2 separate regions of the Homo sapiens genome follow, and region 2 is linked to region 1. The links are contacts of gene promoters, found by promoter capture Hi-C in blood cells and fetal thymus (Javierre and others, 2016). All regions are on one chromosome and are shown on one strand. The core of a region is centred on a gene start or on the middle of the fragment in contact, and the rest is flanking DNA. Distances in the headings are between cores, read along the strand shown. Region 1 holds the start of SNAI2 (snail family transcriptional repressor 2). Region 2 holds the start of LOC124901943 (a long non-coding RNA gene).

Region 1 (4,544 bases), core at 566-3,065:
TCTAACACTCTTCTTTGTTGTGAATAGACTGTGTAGAGTGAAACAAGGAAATAATAGCCATGGCGATATGTGTTTTCTCAACTGTGCTATATCTGTAACAAAAATGTGTGTTTTGTGGGAAATGGAGTGAAAAGCAAGGAGGACTCCTGCTCTCATAAACCCAGGTGCCTACATCCGAACAAACCCTCACATAGAGTAGCAAGCTTAGAAAACTGCCTCTGGCTTTTACTCCAGGTTCCAGTTTGTGTGTGGAGAAATCGAATATGTATTCATATTTTCCTCTCTCCTGCAAGTACAGTTCCATTAGCATAAGGATTCCTTTGAATTATTTTCTCTGTTTGACATTTAAATTAGTGACTGTTGGAAGAAATAAGAATAATCATTGAAATTAGCTTAGGAAATCTGTGAGTGCCCCACCTCACCCTCCAAACACACATACACTCTTGTTTTCTCATTCCAAGATTAAGAAGTTATGCAACCTGACAATGCACTTTTCTCTGACAAGTCTTGACATCACCACTGTTATTTTCTTTTTCACTTTTTTCCTCCAGCACCTGTTAGAAACAAGAGTAGGGTGATCTTCATGTGAATTTGTTCTTTCCTTATTCTTTTAGCAAAAGATAGGGATAAAAGTCTGCAATGGACAGAGATGCTTTAAAATATGCTTGAAATTTTATATTTAAAATAAACCACCTGAAAGTATTTTTAGATTGAAGACCATACACAAAATAAAGGTGTTTTTGCAGTTACTAGACTGGGTTCTTAAAACTTTAATCAATCTATATTCATAATAATATCCTTCAATTTCTTTTTTAGCATTATACAGGAAACTGGTAGATACTGAGATGGATTTTAATGGCTTTATACTGATGAAAATAGCACCACATAAAAGCAGGGGAATATTAGAAATAAAAATAATTGTCTCTAAAGACCCATACAACCCTTTTTCCCATAAAAAAAAAGATGCACTGTAATACATGAAAAGATAAGATCTCTTGTCAAAAGTGTGAGAGAATGTCCGGTGGTTCCAAATGACAGTTACCTCTTGCCCCCCTTCTCTGCCAGAGTTCCTTTTTATCTTTGCAATCTTCCAGTTCTTCCGATCAGCCTGCCTTTAGAGGGCTACAAAGCATTTCTTTCAAGCCACCATAGCTAACACGGTGACATGAGTACTTAATTTGCACGCGGCCGCGCTGCCCCTGGCTTCGCGGAAGCCCTGAGTAGCGCAGCGCCCTCGCCGCACGCAAGGCTGCAGTCCCGCTCCAGGCCAGAGTCCCAGGAGAGCGTCCTCCGCGCTCACAGGCGCCTTTGTCTTCCCGCTTCCCCCTTCCTTTTTCAAAAGCCAAGAGGTAATTATTTGGTCTTTGTGCAAGGCAAACCTCTCCAGATGCCACTTCCAAATATAGGCTCTCATTAACACCAGAGGCTGGCCTGGTGTGGTGCAGGGCGGCCCTTCCTTCTCCTGGCGGACACTGTGTCCCCGCGCGCTGGCGCTGCACCACATCTGGAAGCCAGGCGGGCAGGGCAGAGACCCCGGCTCCTGCGCCCCTCCTAGCTCCCAGAGAGCGTGGATCGCGGGCGGGGCTCACCGAGCGAGGTTACCTCTCTTGAAAATACTTAAACACTTTTTTTCCTCTCCACTGAAATCTCAAAAAACAGCCCATTTTGAACCAGAATAATTTAGTCTGACAACAGATTCTTCCTCTGTTCACAGCTGTCCCAGAGGGAGGAGCTGAAATCTGAACCTCTCAGCTGTGATTGGATCTTTCTTGCAAAAGAGAGGAAAAAAAAACCCTCCCAGCCAAAACGGGCTCAGTTCGTAAAGGAGCCGGGTGACTTCAGAGGCGCCGGCCCGTCCGTCTGCCGCACCTGAGCACGGCCCCTGCCCGAGCCTGGCCCGCCGCGATGCTGTAGGGACCGCCGTGTCCTCCCGCCGGACCGTTATCCGCGCCGGGCGCCCGCCAGACCCGCTGGCAAGATGCCGCGCTCCTTCCTGGTCAAGAAGCATTTCAACGCCTCCAAAAAGCCAAACTACAGCGAACTGGACACACATACAGGTAAAAAGAGAAAAATATATCTAGAACTACGTATCTAGAGCTTTGCAAATATGAATCTACGTATTACCCTTCAAATACCATTACAAAAGAGCCAAAGATTCAACTGTTTTCCTTTTTAACAGTGTCCTGAAAGGGAGCTTACATTCTTTTGATCATTTAGGGTTCGTTTTAATTCAAAACTTTTAAAATTCTTGACTAACAAGGAACATTTCATTCAAATCTCGCAGCTTCGTTTGCTAAAGCCTGTGTATACATGCATAATGAGTATGTGAAAGATGAGCAACATAAGGATTGAATTACTGCGTTTTTCATGCACTAAGTCTCCTTTCCTTTAGAAGGCGGCTTGATGCAGGCATATCTTTGTACTCACGGTCGTAATACACCTAAATAGCCCATACGTAACATGGAAAACAACTTTTCTGTATGTTTAAAAATAATGTTGAGGCTCTCCTTCCTCAATGGGGACGGCGAAGGCACTGGCTTGGCTGCACTGTCTGACTTCAGAGCACCTATAGCTCCGTGCAGCTGTCAGCCTATGTGTGCATTAAGTACAGTAACTCCGTAGGTGCCAGGGTGGAAATGAAACATTTTACCAGTGTGTATGCCCTCCTAAATGGGTCTATCTTCTTCCTAAGAAAATCACGTGTGTGTTGCTAAATATCTTTCCAGTGTGTGTATACTTGCGTGTGGATTTATTTTTAATTATTTTTGCCTTAATCTTCTCTCCCTCCCTTTTCTTTCCCAGTGATTATTTCCCCGTATCTCTATGAGAGTTACTCCATGCCTGTCATACCACAACCAGAGATCCTCAGCTCAGGAGCATACAGCCCCATCACTGTGTGGACTACCGCTGCTCCATTCCACGCCCAGCTACCCAATGGCCTCTCTCCTCTTTCCGGATACTCCTCATCTTTGGGGCGAGTGAGTCCCCCTCCTCCATCTGACACCTCCTCCAAGGACCACAGTGGCTCAGAAAGCCCCATTAGTGATGAAGAGGAAAGACTACAGTCCAAGCTTTCAGACCCCCATGCCATTGAAGCTGAAAAGTTTCAGTGCAATTTATGCAATAAGACCTATTCAACTTTTTCTGGGCTGGCCAAACATAAGCAGCTGCACTGCGATGCCCAGTCTAGAAAATCTTTCAGCTGTAAATACTGTGACAAGGAATATGTGAGCCTGGGCGCCCTGAAGATGCATATTCGGACCCACACATTACCTTGTGTTTGCAAGATCTGCGGCAAGGCGTTTTCCAGACCCTGGTTGCTTCAAGGACACATTAGAACTCACACGGGTAAGAGAAAAACCATAGGCAGGAATGTTACTCTGAGATACAATGAAGCCCTGGGCTGGCTGTTGGATTTGCATGAAGTTGTGACATAGTGCTTTTAATGATGGACAGTCATTGATAGCTACTTCCTGACTACTCAAAAAGTTGTTAGGGCACAAAGTGCTCCATTTCTTGCTAACAACCTCTGCTCCAGGGACTGCAAACAGCATGTAGACTTTGGAAAGTAGATTCAGAAGGTTTGGTCTCAAAGATCAGTTAGAAAATCAGGAAAGATGTGCTTGAATGTGTGTTCTGTGAAACTGCCCCCAGTAATCAGCAAATACAAATGTTGCTATCTTAATCAATTGATTTGGTTAATAGATGAAGGCTTTTCCTACAGTTTTCTGTTAGTTACATTCTTGCTCTGATATTTGTCACCCGTGGGTGACTTGGATAGTTGAAACTAAATTTACTTTGCCTCTCTTGCTTTGTTTGGGGATTTTTTGCTCCTTAATTTCTTATTCGTATCACAGAATTATTCTGCAGGGTATCATGGCACTTAGACCACCTTAATCATAGTACAGAAAGAGGGAAAAGGGGAAATATTGGGAAATGTTGGGAGGTGCTCAACATTAGCTGCATCTGCTAAAGCAGAAAGCTTTAAGAAGTGAAAGTCCAAGAACTACGTAAATTATTTCTGTATGATTGGCAGCAGTAATAATATTCGTGTATGATTTTTAAATGCAATATTCAAGTTTATCTTAAAAATTCAGGTATTTTTAAAAGTGTCTATTATGAGGGATTTTAATCAGGTTTTGCTGCTTCTCATTATTTAAGCAAAATGTGATTGACTTTTGTTAACATGATTTTACTTTATGTTTCCTCTAAAAACACTGACTGTCTTTCTTTTTTTCTCCCACTCCACCCCCAGGGGAGAAGCCTTTTTCTTGCCCTCACTGCAACAGAGCATTTGCAGACAGGTCAAATCTGAGGGCTCATCTGCAGACCCATTCTGATGTAAAGAAATACCAGTGCAAAAACTGCTCCAAAACCTTCTCCAGAATGTCTCTCCTGCACAAACATGAGGAATCTGGCTGCTGTGTAGCACACTGAGTGACGCAATCAATGTTTACTCGAACAGAATGCATTTCTTCACTCCGAAGCCAAATGACAAATAAAGTCCAAAGGCATTTTCTCCTGTGCTGACCAACCAAATAATA
Region 2 (4,544 bases), core at 1,508-4,007, 330 kb after region 1:
TCTAATACATGTGAGATGACATATACACATACTTGTTATTATAACACTATTAGTAAGATCAAAATGTTGGAGACAGCCATAAGTATACATCATTAAAGGACTTTTAAATAATACAGCATATCATACAATAGAATATAATGCAGCTGTAGAAAGGATGCAAGGAATGTTTGTGTGCAAATATGGAATGCACTTGAAAATATATTGCTCTTACAAGGGCAGAAGAGTGTGTACAGTATTTTTACCACTTATATAAAGAAGGAAGAATACGAACATGAATTAACTTCCTTTGTAGAGATGTAACCTATTTCTGAAAAATATTAGAAAAATTATAGAACTGGCTGTTTCATAGGAAGGGAATTTGTGTCAAGACAAGAGTGGAAGAATACATTATTTAAACTTTTGTACGTTTTGAATTTGGAACTCTATGACTGTGCTACCTACTCAAAACAATTTTAATGACTATATATATTTTATGGAATCCCCTTACAAATAATGCAAGTATTTAACCAATGCTCGCTATTAATGGTTGCACCATGATAGACTTAATGGTGAAATCATATACAAATTAAGACCTTATTGAGTAGCATTAAGTGGACCTCATTCAAAACAACTGCTCCATGTGAAAATTTTTGAATAATTTACCATGCTTTGATATCATTAAATACAAGACTTTTGCCTTTTACTCATCTACAGTGTAGAGATCACTCTTCCATGTCAGCTAAAGTTGAATCCCAGTTGGTTCTTACTGAGGGACCCCGAGGGCAGGTCTGTAGATGGGTGCAGGTGAAGCGGGTCACAGCACACTACAGCAGCCAGGAGGTATGGGCTTCCCAACACCAGGGCCACTGCCCCCTGCCAGATGTGAGCTGGCACTGCCGCCTTCCTCCCCGTGCACTGCATGGCTCTCCTGTCCTCTAACCACCCAGAGTGCCAGCAGGACTCCAGTGGAAGTCAGCAGATCAGGACTGAAACCTGGACTCCTAAGAGCTGCTGAGAACACGTTTTCTTCCAGGCACCTCACTAGACATTTTATATAGTTAGCCATCATTTAATTTACCCAGTGACATCAGCATAAGGTACATATCATTTTCCCTGTTTTTCACAGGCAAATACTTGGACTCAAGAGCAAGGAATGTCCTGAAGACTTGCACAGGGAAAAGTATTGGAGCTTGGATTAAATACAGATTAACAACAACAACAACAACAACAAAAGCCAGGCTCAGAAAGACAGGGACAAAGAAACAGAAAGGAAGTTAAAAACAAACCACAGGACTGAGTTCCTTCATTTCAGGGTCTAATGAGGGCTGGCGGCCGTAGCCATTCTAGAATTCCCAACATGGAGTTCCAAATTTTCTAGAAACAATGAAGATCTAGTATTTTCAAGCTTTTATCAGCTTATATTACACTCTCAATGATAATTTTTTTTAATTCTTTAGTAGCACACCAACTAACACTAAAGTAAGCCACCTGGCCAAGCGTGGTGGCATGTGCCTGTGGTCCCAGCTACTTGGGAGGCTGAGACGGGAGCATCCCTTAAGCCCGGGAGGTCGACGCTGCAGTAAGCTGTGATTGTACCACTGCACTGCAGCCTGGGTGACAGAGAGATACCATTTTAAAAATAAAAATAAAAAAAATTAAGCTACTCAATTTGCAGGAGATCATGCAAAGGTAGACAGAGCAGGCTGGTCACTGGAGCCCAGGGCAACCTGCAGACAGATGCACCTGCAGACAGACTTTTGCTGGCATCATCTCCCACTCTTCCTCTGGCTGGTCCTTCCCCCTGATGTTATTTTTAATGGTCCTGTGTATTGTTGTGGAGGTCACCTCACATGTTTTCCTAGTGTAGTGAGAATACTAACCAAAGGCTGAAAAGAAATCAAATGCAATGCCAGTTGAAAGACCTGAGACAGACACACAGGGAATGCCTAGGTGCCTGACAGGGAGAGAAGCTCTCAGTGTGCCATGGACCACGTGGATGCTTATCAAGGAGACCTGCTAACCCAGCTAAGAGATAGTGGCCCAGCAGGTCTCAGAGGAAAGGACCCTTCTGGCCCCAGGTGGCTTGGGGTCCCTCATCAGCACTCCCGTCACACCTCACAACCAGGGCCACCACACCAGGAATTCGTGTGCAGATTGTGTCTTGTGTCTGTCTTGAAGGCATCTAAAGGCACTTGGAACTATACCTTTTGTCTCCCCAACACTAACAAAATCTGTGGCATGTTGTAAATACTTGGTGAATGAATTCCTAAAAGTTTGAATCTGGACCTTCAAGGGAAGACAATATATGGCTATGCAGTATTCAGAGGATAACCAGGCAGGAAGATCATCAAGGTCTAGAAACACACCAAGAAGAGAGACTACGGCATTTCAGTGCAGGCCAGGGGTGGCACTGGTCAAAGGCACATGTGGAACTGTGTCAGGCTGAATAGATGAGCCGGCACCCAGCCAAGAAGCACCACTTCCGCCACGCCTCCTCTGGAAATGGCACCCTACTTCATTCAGGTGACAAAATATGGCCCTCACACTCGAATACTGACCGTCACTCAAGGCACCTCTGTCCAGTTCTTCCAAATCCAGAACAGTTTCAGCGATAGCAGACAAATCCACACATAACATGTTATGTTTGATTATTCAGAGATGATCATTTAAACAATGATGTCACTGCTATCAATGTAAGGCATCCGGTGGAGATGCCTGTCTTAGACACCCCTAAATTTGACCAACCTTGACTTCCAATTTGCCCGAGGGCATGGAGGACATTTGAGACAGCATGCCCAAAAAATCAAAGTGAAATGTCCTCCACTATTATTCCAGGAACTTCTTCTGAAGCACCACTTGGGAAATGCAGTCTCCTCCAAGGACAGCACTCACGCTGGTGTCAGCCACATACTCCAGCTGTACCCGGGTTGAGGACCAGTGCAGACCCTCTCCCCTGCATGCCACATTCAGAAAGCAGAGGAGGCCTTGTGTAAGGTATGACTACAAAATAACACAACTCTCAGAATCACTACAGATACAGCAGCATCCAAAGTCCTCATCCCCCACGTTTTAAATTCTCAAAATAACCACTTAAAATTTTGAAATTGGCTGGGCATGGTGGCTTATGCCTGTAATCCCAGCACTTTGGGAGGCCAAGGCAGGTAGATCATGAGATCAAGAGATCGAGACCATCCTGGCCAACATGGTGAAACCCTGTCTCTACTAAAAATACAAAAATTAGCTGGATGTGGTGGCGTGCCCCTGTAGTCCCAGTTACTCGGAGGCTGAGGCAGAATAGCTTGAACCCAGGAGGCAGAGGTTGCAGTGAGCCAACGTCGCACTACTGCACTCCAGTCTGGTGACAGAGCGAGATTCCACCTCAAAAAAAAAAATGCAATGAACACATGTCATCCTGCCCAAGCCAAAAGAAAGATGGGAGCTATTTTCTCAGCTGGTAGCATAATTGTATTATTCGCAGAGGCACACTGAAGACTCAGTGTCAGCTCGGTGCAGTTAGAAAGAACGCTGACGGTGGCAAAGCTAAATGGTCTTTGTCAGGCATTCTCCAGCATTCAAACGGGTAATATTCCATAGCGTCTTTCACTAAGTCAGTTCATGCAGGGAGGCAGAAGCAGGAGGCAGCGCTCTCAAAGTCACAGGCTCCAAGTGAGCCATGCTGAAGTTTAGTTTCATGGTCGAGGTTGCCAACTAGTAACTTTTATTCATACAATTTTCAAGTTAAAATCTTTATTTCCAGCTAGGCGCGGTGGCTCATGCCTGTAATCCCAGCACTTTGGGAGGCCGAGGCAGGCAGATCACGAGGTCAGGAGATCAAGACCATCCTGGCTAACGCGGTGAATCCCCATCTCTACTAAAAATACAAAAACAAAAAATTAGCCAGGTGTGGTGGCAGGCACCTGTAGTCCCAGCTACTCGGGAGGCTGAGGCAGGAGAATGGTGTGAACCCGGGAGGCGGAGGTTGCAGTGAGCCGAGATTGTGCCACTGCACTCCAGCTTGGGCCACAGAGCAAGGCTCCATCTCAAAAAAAAAAAAAAAATCCTCACTTCCACACTTTCCCACGGTGCCCTGGGATCTTGGCTATTTGCTCAAGCATTTGAAAACATTTCTTTTTTAATTTCTTGAAAGCTTAAGTTCACAAAGAAACTTGTACATGAATGCTCATGGAAGCTTCATTTGTAATGGTCGAAAATGGGGGACAAGGCAGCCGTCCTTCGACGATGACTGATTAAACAGTGGTGTGTCCACACCAGGAACACGGCTCAGCTATGGAAAGGAACGGGCTCTGATACACACAGCAACGTGAATGGGTCTCAAGGGCATTTTACTGAGTGCAAAAATGCCTTGTGAGGTTACTGTGTGGTTTTGTTTATGTAACAGTCTCAAAGGATAAAATTATAGAGACGGAGAGCAGATTAATGGTTCCAGGAGCAAGGAAGACAGGAACCCTCGTGTGGAGCTGTTCTGCCTCTTGACTGTCAAGGTGGCCATCCTACTCTACAGCAGTGATACAGTTACGGAAAATAAATGCACACAAATGAACTGA

Evidence for each region. Contacts are between HindIII fragments. The CHiCAGO score rates a contact against its expected background, and 5 or more counts as called.
Region 2: a fragment that was not itself captured here is called in contact with the fragment with the promoter of SNAI2 in region 1 in 2 of 17 cell types (M0 macrophages and M1 macrophages); the score reaches 6.8 in M0 macrophages.

The regions. Positions count from the first base shown.
Region 1 is chr8:48,918,700-48,923,243 of GRCh38, reverse strand. It overlaps SNAI2 (snail family transcriptional repressor 2), which reads left to right and starts at 1,815. Exons shown (of 3, transcript NM_003068.5): 1 at 1,815-2,057; 2 at 2,803-3,348; 3 at 4,256-4,544. The coding sequence starts at 1,979. The coding sequence ends at 4,437. LOC107986942 (a long non-coding RNA gene) reads right to left here and starts at 1,687. Exons shown (of 4, transcript XR_001745895.3): 1 at 1,043-1,687; 2 at 480-554. RefSeq lists an enhancer at 1,625-1,704. The HindIII fragment of the contact is 2,868 bases long and covers 206-3,073 here.
Region 2 is chr8:48,594,080-48,598,623 of GRCh38, reverse strand. It overlaps LINC02847 (long intergenic non-protein coding RNA 2847), which reads left to right. Exons shown (of 4, transcript NR_187517.1): 4 at 1,106-1,538. All of the region lies in intron 2 of LOC101929268 (a long non-coding RNA gene), which reads right to left. It overlaps LOC124901943 (a long non-coding RNA gene), which reads left to right and starts at 3,314. Exons shown (of 3, transcript XR_007060909.1): 1 at 3,314-4,544. The HindIII fragment of the contact is 2,742 bases long and covers 1,387-4,128 here.